Regions from separate parts of the Homo sapiens genome. Here region 1 is linked to region 2. The links are contacts of gene promoters, found by promoter capture Hi-C in blood cells and fetal thymus (Javierre and others, 2016). All regions are on one chromosome and are shown on one strand. Each heading gives the region's core, a stretch centred on a gene start or on the middle of the fragment in contact. The rest is flanking DNA. Distances are from core to core; before and after follow the strand shown. Region 1 has its middle 130 kb from the start of ADAMTS1. Region 2 holds the start of GABPA (GA binding protein transcription factor subunit alpha).

Region 1 (4,388 bases), core at 621-3,120, 980 kb before region 2:
TTACAACAGAAACCAAATAACTTCCAAGTTTTCACGATTAAAAAATAAATGCCATGGGCACTTAATAGATTGCTTTAGCTTCTAATAACAATGAAACATTTATCTAAAATATCTATAATAAGGGCCTCAGAAGACTTCATGAATATTATCTTAATTTTATTCTTGCAACATCCAAACGGAAGTGCAGTTGTCAGGTATTTTTTGATAAATACGTTGCAAAGCATAAGCTTTTGAAATAAAGGAGGTGACTTATTAAAATGTTCTAAGAATATCTGATTTACAGATGACTTTTCTTTTTTTTTTTGAGATGGAGTCTGGCTCTGTTGCCCAGGCTGGAGTGCAGTGCCGTGATCTTGGCTCACTGCAACCTCTGCCTCCCAGATTTAAGCAATTCTCCTGCCTCAGCCTGCCGAGTAGCTGGGATTACAGCCACACACCACCATGCCTGGCTAATTTTTGTACTTTTAGTAGAGACAGGGTTTCACCATGTTGGTCAGGCTGGTCTCGAACTCCTGACCTCAGGTGATCCACCCACCTCAGCCTCCCAAAGTGCTGGAATTACAGGCGTGAAACACCATGCCTGGCCTACAGATAACTTTTGATGTGGAGAAAATGAATAGGTATCTGATACTCAGCTCATGGCTTAATTGCAAGTACCTAGATTAAGTAAGCAATTGTGATTGCCTCCTAACTTTAAAAAAAAGTTGCATAATATAAATCATATACGCTATCTTTGTGTTTAGCTTCTCATTACGAGTCATGTTTCTATGTCTTATTATTTCTTAAAGTCCCACTGAGATCCTAACAGACTGTAACAGAAATGCATGTTACATGTAGCTGAGCATTTAAATTCAATATCAGTTATACATTTGAAAGAAAATTAGCATCCATTAGTTCACATAAAAATGAGCGTCTTTCCACCAAAACTTTAGACATTTCTTAATGATTTGCCCTGTTATACTATAAATTCCTGCAATCAAGTGACCTTATCTCATTCCTCTTGGTGTCTTCCTACAATATTCCTGCCAATACTTACATTAGATCAATTCTGCCGATAACTTCAGAATCTAGAAAGGTCAACTTTATTTCTTTACATGCTTCTTCTAAATCTGCTCCTTTTCCTTTAGCATTTTCATGATGTCTCCTAACCAACTGTTAACCTGTAACTGAGATGGTCTTTCTTTTATTTTTACTTCTAATTCTTACCTACCCATTTGAAATGAACCTGTTAAAATGGTTGTCCCTGAAGTAGCATTTCCCTTTACATCCTACAAAGATCCACAGCTTCTACTAGAATTATCGGAGTGTTTGTGCATGTATGTATGTGTGTCTGTGCGTGCGTGTATGTGTGTATATGTGCAAATTATCTTTCCAGTTTGGAAGGCTGGTGGTTGCATGTAGGCATATATTTTCATAGGCTCTCATTTCCTGAGGCTTTACCATTTGCTTTAGAGATTAGGGAATGCCCATTCCAAAAATAGCCAAGTTCTTGGTGCATAAAGGATGTTTTTATCTGCCAGCCACCACTGCCCAGGCTGCAGTTCAGGCTTTCTCTTCTTCCTGTCCTCCCGCTCCTCATGTCTTTGCCAGTGTGCCAGAGCTCTGTGGGTGGCCCGCTGTCATCACTCTGCACCTGTCCCAATTAGCAGGCCTGAGACGCCGCCAAGGCAGCTTGCGTGCTGTGGACTAGTGCGTTGTGTGACCTCATGGCTGGCAAGGCAGCGGCTCTATGGTATGTGGTGTCTAGACGCCATTTGTTGGGCCTGCCCGGTGGGCAAAAGCTGTGTGTGGTATTGGAGGTTTCCCACAGCTGTGTTCACAGGCTGAAAAAGACTCACCAGAGGCTGGACAGCTGGGACCAGGTCATCCATCTCAGTGCCCTCAGAGTTCATCACGGGCCTGACACATGATAGGTGTTCATAGATCTTTGTTGAAATTACAGTGGTTTAGGGCAATATTGATTTTCAACTGTTGCCACAAAATCTGGGAGAGTGTTGAGATGAAGAACATGAATGCTGGAGGCAGAAGGACCCTGGGTTCAAATTCTGACTTTGCCACTTTCCAGCCATATGACATTAGGGAGGTGTGACAATGACCCCATGTCTCAGTTTCCTTATATTTTATGGGGACACTAGTAGCCCCATCTTATAGAGTTGTGATTATTAGAACAGCTTATTCTTGAATAGCTCTTAACACATAACCAGGCATGTGCCTAAGGCTCTAGAGATGCTACACTTTTCATAATCACCACATTTCATCTGCAGTCGCCCGCCAGCCTGCCCACTGTCATCATTTTCTCATTCTGATGTTCTACATATGTGACATACCTTAAACACTACCTTTTTTTTTTTTTTTTTTTTGAAACAGAGTCTCTCCCTGTCGCCCAGGCTGGAGTACAGCAGCGCGATCTCGGCTCACTGCAACCTATGCCTCCTGGGTTCAAGCGATTCTCCTGCCTCAGCCTCCTGAGTAGCTGGGATTACAGGCGCGTGCCACCACACCTGGCTAATTTTTTCTTTTTTTCTTTTTTTTTTTTTTTGTATTTTTAGTAGAGACGGGGTTTCACCATGTTGGTCAGGCTGGTCTCGAACTCCTGACCTTGTGATCTGCCCACCTCAGCCTCCCAAAGTGCTGGGATTACAGGCATGAGCCACCATGCCCGGCCTAAACACTGCTTTTAAAATATTACTAGTAAATGAATTCAGCAAAACTATTTCTTTCTCTTTCTGTGTTAAAGGTTTTAAACTGGCTGTTAGGAACATGTTCCCTGAGATGGGGCATTACCGTCTTCATCCTCTTTGCAAAGACAGGGGGAAGGGACTAGGAGGCCTGGGACTTCCTTCTGAATCTTCTACTTTCAAGGAAAGGACAACAAAATACACAAATGTTAATAGACCACACACCTTTCTCCTTAAATTCAGGAGGTCTAGTGTGACTCATTTTGCTGTCAGAAGCTATTTTACTGAAGGTAGAAAACAATAAAATGCAATGGTGATATAATTTGGATATTTGTTCCCTCTCAAATCTCATGTTGAATTGTAATCCCCAGTGTTGCAGGTGGGGCCTCGTGGGAGGTGTTTGGATCATGGATGTGGATTTCTCATGAATGGCTTAGCACCAGCCTCTTGGTGCTCTTGTCGAGATACTGAGTGAGTTCTTGTGAAATCTAGTTGTTTAAAGGTATGTGGCACCTCACCCCCGACTCTCTCTCTCTCCTGTTCTGGCCATGTGCCTGCTCCTGCTTTGCCTTCTGCCACGACTGTAAGTTTCCTGAGGCCTCCACAGAAGCCAAGCAGATGCCAGCACCATACTTCCTGTACTGCCTACAAAACCATGAGCCAATTAAACCTCTTTTATAAATTACCCAGTCTCAGGTATTTTTTATAGCAATGCAAGAATGGCCAATTGAAAACCAGAACAGATATTATTTCGGAAGCAATAAGTATTAGCTAAAATTTAATGTGCCCTAAAATGTACCTACGAAGTTCTGTGACAAAAAGAAAAATAAGCTTATGGAAGTAAAAACAGATATGAGGGTAGCATTTCTTTAGGATGAAAAGAAAGGAGAAAGCATCTGTAGGGCCCATCTCGATGAAAGAACTCTGGTTGGCTGAGATGGCTCCAGGTTCTGCAGAAAGCTGATGAGAATGGAATTTTCCATTTTCCAAAGCAAGTGATAGTGAGCTTTCCTTAGGTATTGATGGGATCCAGCCTCCTTCCTGCATACTGCAAGAGAAGTGGGAGTGGAGATTTGAGGCTTCTGAAAATAGAACTAAATTAGTTTCACCCTCAGAGCTGTAATTTCCTATCCCCTTACCCCACCTACACACACACACACACACATACACACACACACACACACACACACACACACACACAGGCGCGCACACAGGCACCTGTCCATTTCATTTCCTTCTGGACTATATGTGCAGGTATTAATTGTGTAGTATTAATTTATTGTGTAGAATGACTTAGGAAACGTTTCTACACAAAGGGTAAAACCTTCAGGGTACTAACTTGGGGTTCATTTTGGTCACGTTTTACCAGATGGCACCAATGTCAATTGCTGAGTCTCTGGTGTACCCCGAAATCTGGCTTCTGAAGCCACCAAATCATATCTTCTTGGTGAATCTATATACACATTATGGATAATTTCACCATCAGCAGCAGCAGTCTCTTTGTCTTCCAAGGACAAAAAGAGAAGACAACTTTCATATTAACATCATTAAATAAAAAGTTAAAAAGTAAATTTCCTTATTCAACCACAAGGTGGAGCATTTAACCCAGAATCAGCTGCCACTAAATCTGTTCATAATATTTTATTTTTATGCGAGCATTTTTACTGTTTGGGGAAGGGATCTAAAGCTGAAATAAAAGAGAATATTGTG
Region 2 (4,354 bases), core at 858-3,357:
TTTTAAAATACAGATAGGTGTAACATTCCCTTTTGAAACTACAGATAAATTTGAGAATTGTCCTTCATTGGAGAGCATTATTACAGAGCTTAGAACATTTTGTTCCCAATATATTATAAGTGGAGTGTGGGGGTACCTGCGAGATTAACTGCACATTTTCCTAAGTTATCAAATGCTTTTCTGTGTCTGAGGAAATTAAAAGACATTTTTATTTTCAAAAATAAAGGTAGCAGTTAAGAAAAAGCAAAGCATACATATCTATGTAATATAAAAAGAGAAAGCACATACAGTGAAAGATTAACAGTTGGGACCCTCAGGTGAAGGGTATCTGCGTGTTCACTGCATGATTTTTTCCCCAATTCTTCTGTAGGTTTGGAGTTTTATATATAAAGAGTTGAGGGAAGGCTAAAGTCAACAGTTTTAATTTAGTACTCGGTCTGATGATTTGCTTCAACCTAACATCTAGCTCATGATTTAATTACTTCATTACTATACATGCCTCATGACAGATGCTCTTGTATACACAATTCAGGTAAAATTGACTTGAAGTCCACTCAGCGTCACTGTATGTCTAAAAATAAAGAAGCTTGGAAAGCCTGGATGGAACCCTGAGAGACAGGCTAGTCCCTCAAGCAGTTGCTAAAGAGTTGAGCGGTTTCTTCTGAAGTTCAAGATAACACTACCGAAGAATGTTATCACCGCCTCGTTCTACAATTCGCTCAAGTGAATCCTGCTAAATCTTTGCTCTTCTCACGAGTCAGACCTACTGCTATTAGTGGAAACTACTTATGAAATGAATTTTATTTCTAAATTTCTAATCATCTTGCAATGCAATATTAGGCATTGTCCTCTCGGTCCGCTAACCTGATCAAACTGGGGTCCCTAAATCCAAACACGCACATACAGCGTGTCTTCTAGTACACAAAAAAATTTCCAAGTAGACAACCCATTGTTATCTCCTTGGTTTACTTCCTTGCTTAAAAACAAAAAAACAAACCCAGATGGCTACCATATACGCTGATAAATGATTCTGGTGTGTGTTGTTCTATAAAGAGAGCGGATTTGAAATGAGTGAATCGCTGAGTCCCGCGATGAGACAGGGTCTGCATTTTGCTCTTAAAATCTCGGGGGCGTCAGGACCACATCCCAGCTGAGCAGGCTGAGACTGCTGAGGAGTGCGGACGGGCGAGGAGGGGACGCGGAAAGGAGGGAGCGGCGACAGGCGACCCGTCCGGCACGGGTCCCGGCGGTGCCCGGTCCCCCCGGGCTCCAGGCCGCTCGCCCCCCGCCCCTCCCCTTCGCTCCCCGCACAGCTCTCCCGCCCCTCCCCACCCGGCTCCCTCAAGTCTCCACGAACGGAAATGGGAGTCACAGCGCCGGGGACCAGCGGAAACAAAACACAGAGGCGGCCGCGGGGGGGCCCTTGTGGGGGAAAAGGCCCCGGAACGAGGCCGGCCCGCGAGGGCCCGCGCTCCCCTCCTCCCCGGCGGCCGCACTCACCCACTCCGGAATCGGCCCTGTCGCCCCCGCCCGCACTCCAGAGCCGGCTGAGAACGGCAGCGGCGAGGGCTCCACGTGCAGCGTCTCTCCGGGTAAGACCTGCAGCTCCCGCGACTAGAAGTGTGAGGTCCCAGGGCCCTTCCCGCGGAATCGGCGCTGAGAAGCCCCAACCCCCCTCCCGCCTCCCAGGCACCTTCGGGTCCAGGACTACAACTCCCGGCAGGGTGCGCAAAACGACCGCCCAAGGCAACGGAGGCTCACGAGGTACAAGGAAGCACAACGCCCCAATCCGCTTTGTTTTACACAGTCTCACTTTCCCTGCACCTTTATACACTTCGATAACCCTAACGAACAGGACGCTGACTCGGAGGGGAGCTTGAACTAGGGGAAAGGCCACTCAAAGAGCGCATGCGTACAGAGCAAGGTTTCAAGGAGGGGAAAAAGAACGGGTCAAATTAGGCGAAGAAAAGATGGCGGAGGCTGTGCCAGGGGACCCGGAAGCACTTACCCTCCACTTCCTCCTCCTGTTTGGCTTCTGTCTCACCTAGACCCGTCCGGTCGCAGACTGTCTCCGAGACGCTTCCTGTCCGGTGAGCGTCGACCGACTGAAACGGCGGCCCATAATGCATTGCGATGGCGGGTAGGCGTGTGGGGGCGGAGCCAGGGCCGGAAGTAGAGCGGAGGTGGTGGCGGCGGAGGCTTTGGCAGCTCGGGACTGAGTGCAAGGTGACTGGGAGGGTAGCTAGATCAGCGTGGCCTTTTGGGACTCCAGTTCTGGGTTTTTTCACGAGGCCTGGGCTGCCTCTCACCTTTACTAGGAGGAGAGAGCAGCTCTGTGTCCTGGGGACCTTCACGGCCTGGCCCGGGGTCACAGCTGACCTCTACGTTTGTAGACCTTGGAGTTTGCCGTAGACCCAGAAATAAGATCGATACCCTCTCTGAGGGCAAATCGGGGCGGCGCGGGGGGCAGGGAGGCCCGGGGGTCTCGGGCCCGCAGCCTGGCTGGGGCAACCCAAGGTCAGGCGCGCGGGAGAGATTTTCGGCCAGGCCTACCCGCCCCGGGCGCACGGGAGCGTCTAGGCTACTTAGGCAGAACGTGTACCATTAAGAGGGAAAAAATTAGTCATAATATTGAAAGTTTGCATCCCACCTAAAAACGATGGTGCTAACACTTCATTAGGCGACTTTATGGATTGTTCATAGGAATATGCACTGAAGAGGCAGCGAACCTACTAACCTTTGGCCGGTCAGTCATCACTATAAATAGAACCATGCTCCCACCCAGAACAAGGCCTCTGCTCAGACTAGTGTTTTCTTACTGTTGCCTTCCCCAGTCTTTCTGATCATGTCAGACGCTATCATATGCTCTCGTGGCACCCGATGGTACTGGAATAGAGAATTTATGTCAGGTGGTATTTCACAGCTATTTGTGTAATGACTATCTTCTGCGTTTTAGTGGACAATATGCATTCACTAATCAGTGAAAAAAAATGAAAGGGATTAAAGGAGAAGGAACAAGTTTTGATATGGGATTATGTGTTCGTTTTTTGGATGAGTTCGTAGGACTTATAAGGGAGATGAGAACTGTTGAATGCTGTGGATAGATTTGGGGCTCAGGATGAATACTAAAATTAGAAATGCGATTGGGGAATCATAGGCACTTACATGGTGGATAATTGAAACAATGAAAGTGGATTTTACCCGTGTTGCAGAAGGAGTAACATCTATGCAGTCAGACTTAGAGCAAATTAACTGTGAGAATACGTGCAGCTTAATCTTTCTTAGATACAGTTTTATCATCTGTAAAGCAGGGATAAGAACACTTTAACTCTTTGAGAGTATTGCTGTAAGGGTACAAGGAAAGGATATATATGGAAGTACTTTGCACAGTATCTAGGGCTAAGCAAATGTCGGGTGAACCTATTGCTGAATGTTAAGCATGTCCTTAGTTTGCCAGAAGGGAAAGTGGCATTGAATTGCACAATTTTTTTTTTTGCATATATGTGTTAAGTTAGATTTTGCTGTGTAACTTTGACCAGATACTTTTTTTTTGAGACAGAGTCTCGCTCTGTCGCCCAGGCTGGATTGCAGTGGCACGATCTCTGCTCACTCCAAGCTCCACTTTCCAGGTTTACGCCCTTCTGCCTCAGCCTCCGGAGTAGCTGGGACTACAGGTGCCCGCCACCACGCCTGGCTAATTTTTTGTATTTTTCAGTAGAGACCGGGTTTCACCGTGTTAGCCAGGATGGTCTCGATCTCCTGACCTCGTGATCTGCCCGCCTCGGCCTCCCAAAGTGCTGGGATTACAAGCGTGAGCCACCGCGCCCGACCACTTTGACCAGATACTTCTAATCCTCAGTTTCTGTGTGTTTAAACATAGGAATGATAATAAGTGGCACATGACCTTGTGAGGTCATTTGTTGTTTGCTTGTAGCCTTTTCTCAAGTATTTTTCCCTGATGGGGTATAAAAGTGATATGTTATGAATTCTTTAATTTCTTCAAACAGTTTGCTTTCATTCTGTCAGGTGAAGCATATTTTGTTGATTGCATTGATAGTAGGATTTCTTTTTTTTTTTTTTTTTTTTTTTTTTTGAGACAGAGTTTCACTCTTGTTGCCCAGGGTGGAGGAGTGCAGTGGCGCGATCTCGGCTCACCGCAACCTCCGCCTCCTGGGTTCAAGGAATCTCCTGCCTCAGCCTCCTGAGTAGCTGGGATTACAGGCATGTGCCACCACTCCCGGCTAATTTTGTATTTTTGGTAGAGACGGGGTTTCTCCATGTTGGTCAGGCTGATCTTGAATCCCTACCTCAGGTGATCCACCCACCTTGGCCTCCCAAAGTGCTGGGATTACAA

What was found. Contacts are between HindIII fragments. The CHiCAGO score rates a contact against its expected background, and 5 or more counts as called.
Region 1: a fragment that was not itself captured here is called in contact with the fragment with the promoter of GABPA in region 2 in 1 of 17 cell types (fetal thymus); the score reaches 8.5 in fetal thymus.

Annotation. Positions count from the first base shown.
Region 1 is chr21:26,717,236-26,721,623 of GRCh38, reverse strand. No RefSeq gene overlaps it. Among named protein-coding and RNA genes, the nearest start is that of ADAMTS1, 130 kb to the left of the region's middle. The HindIII fragment of the contact is 3,282 bases long and covers 230-3,511 here.
Region 2 is chr21:25,732,725-25,737,078 of GRCh38, reverse strand. It overlaps GABPA (GA binding protein transcription factor subunit alpha), which reads right to left and starts at 2,107. Exons shown (of 10, transcript NM_002040.4): 1 at 1,501-2,107. ATP5PF (ATP synthase peripheral stalk subunit F6) reads left to right here and starts at 2,175. Exons shown (of 4, transcript NM_001003703.2): 1 at 2,175-2,226. RefSeq lists silencers at 1,114-1,323, 1,384-1,523, 2,464-2,563 and enhancers at 2,024-2,143, 2,164-2,273, 1,700-2,355, 2,674-2,753, 4,046-4,354. The HindIII fragment of the contact is 6,464 bases long and covers 589-4,354 here.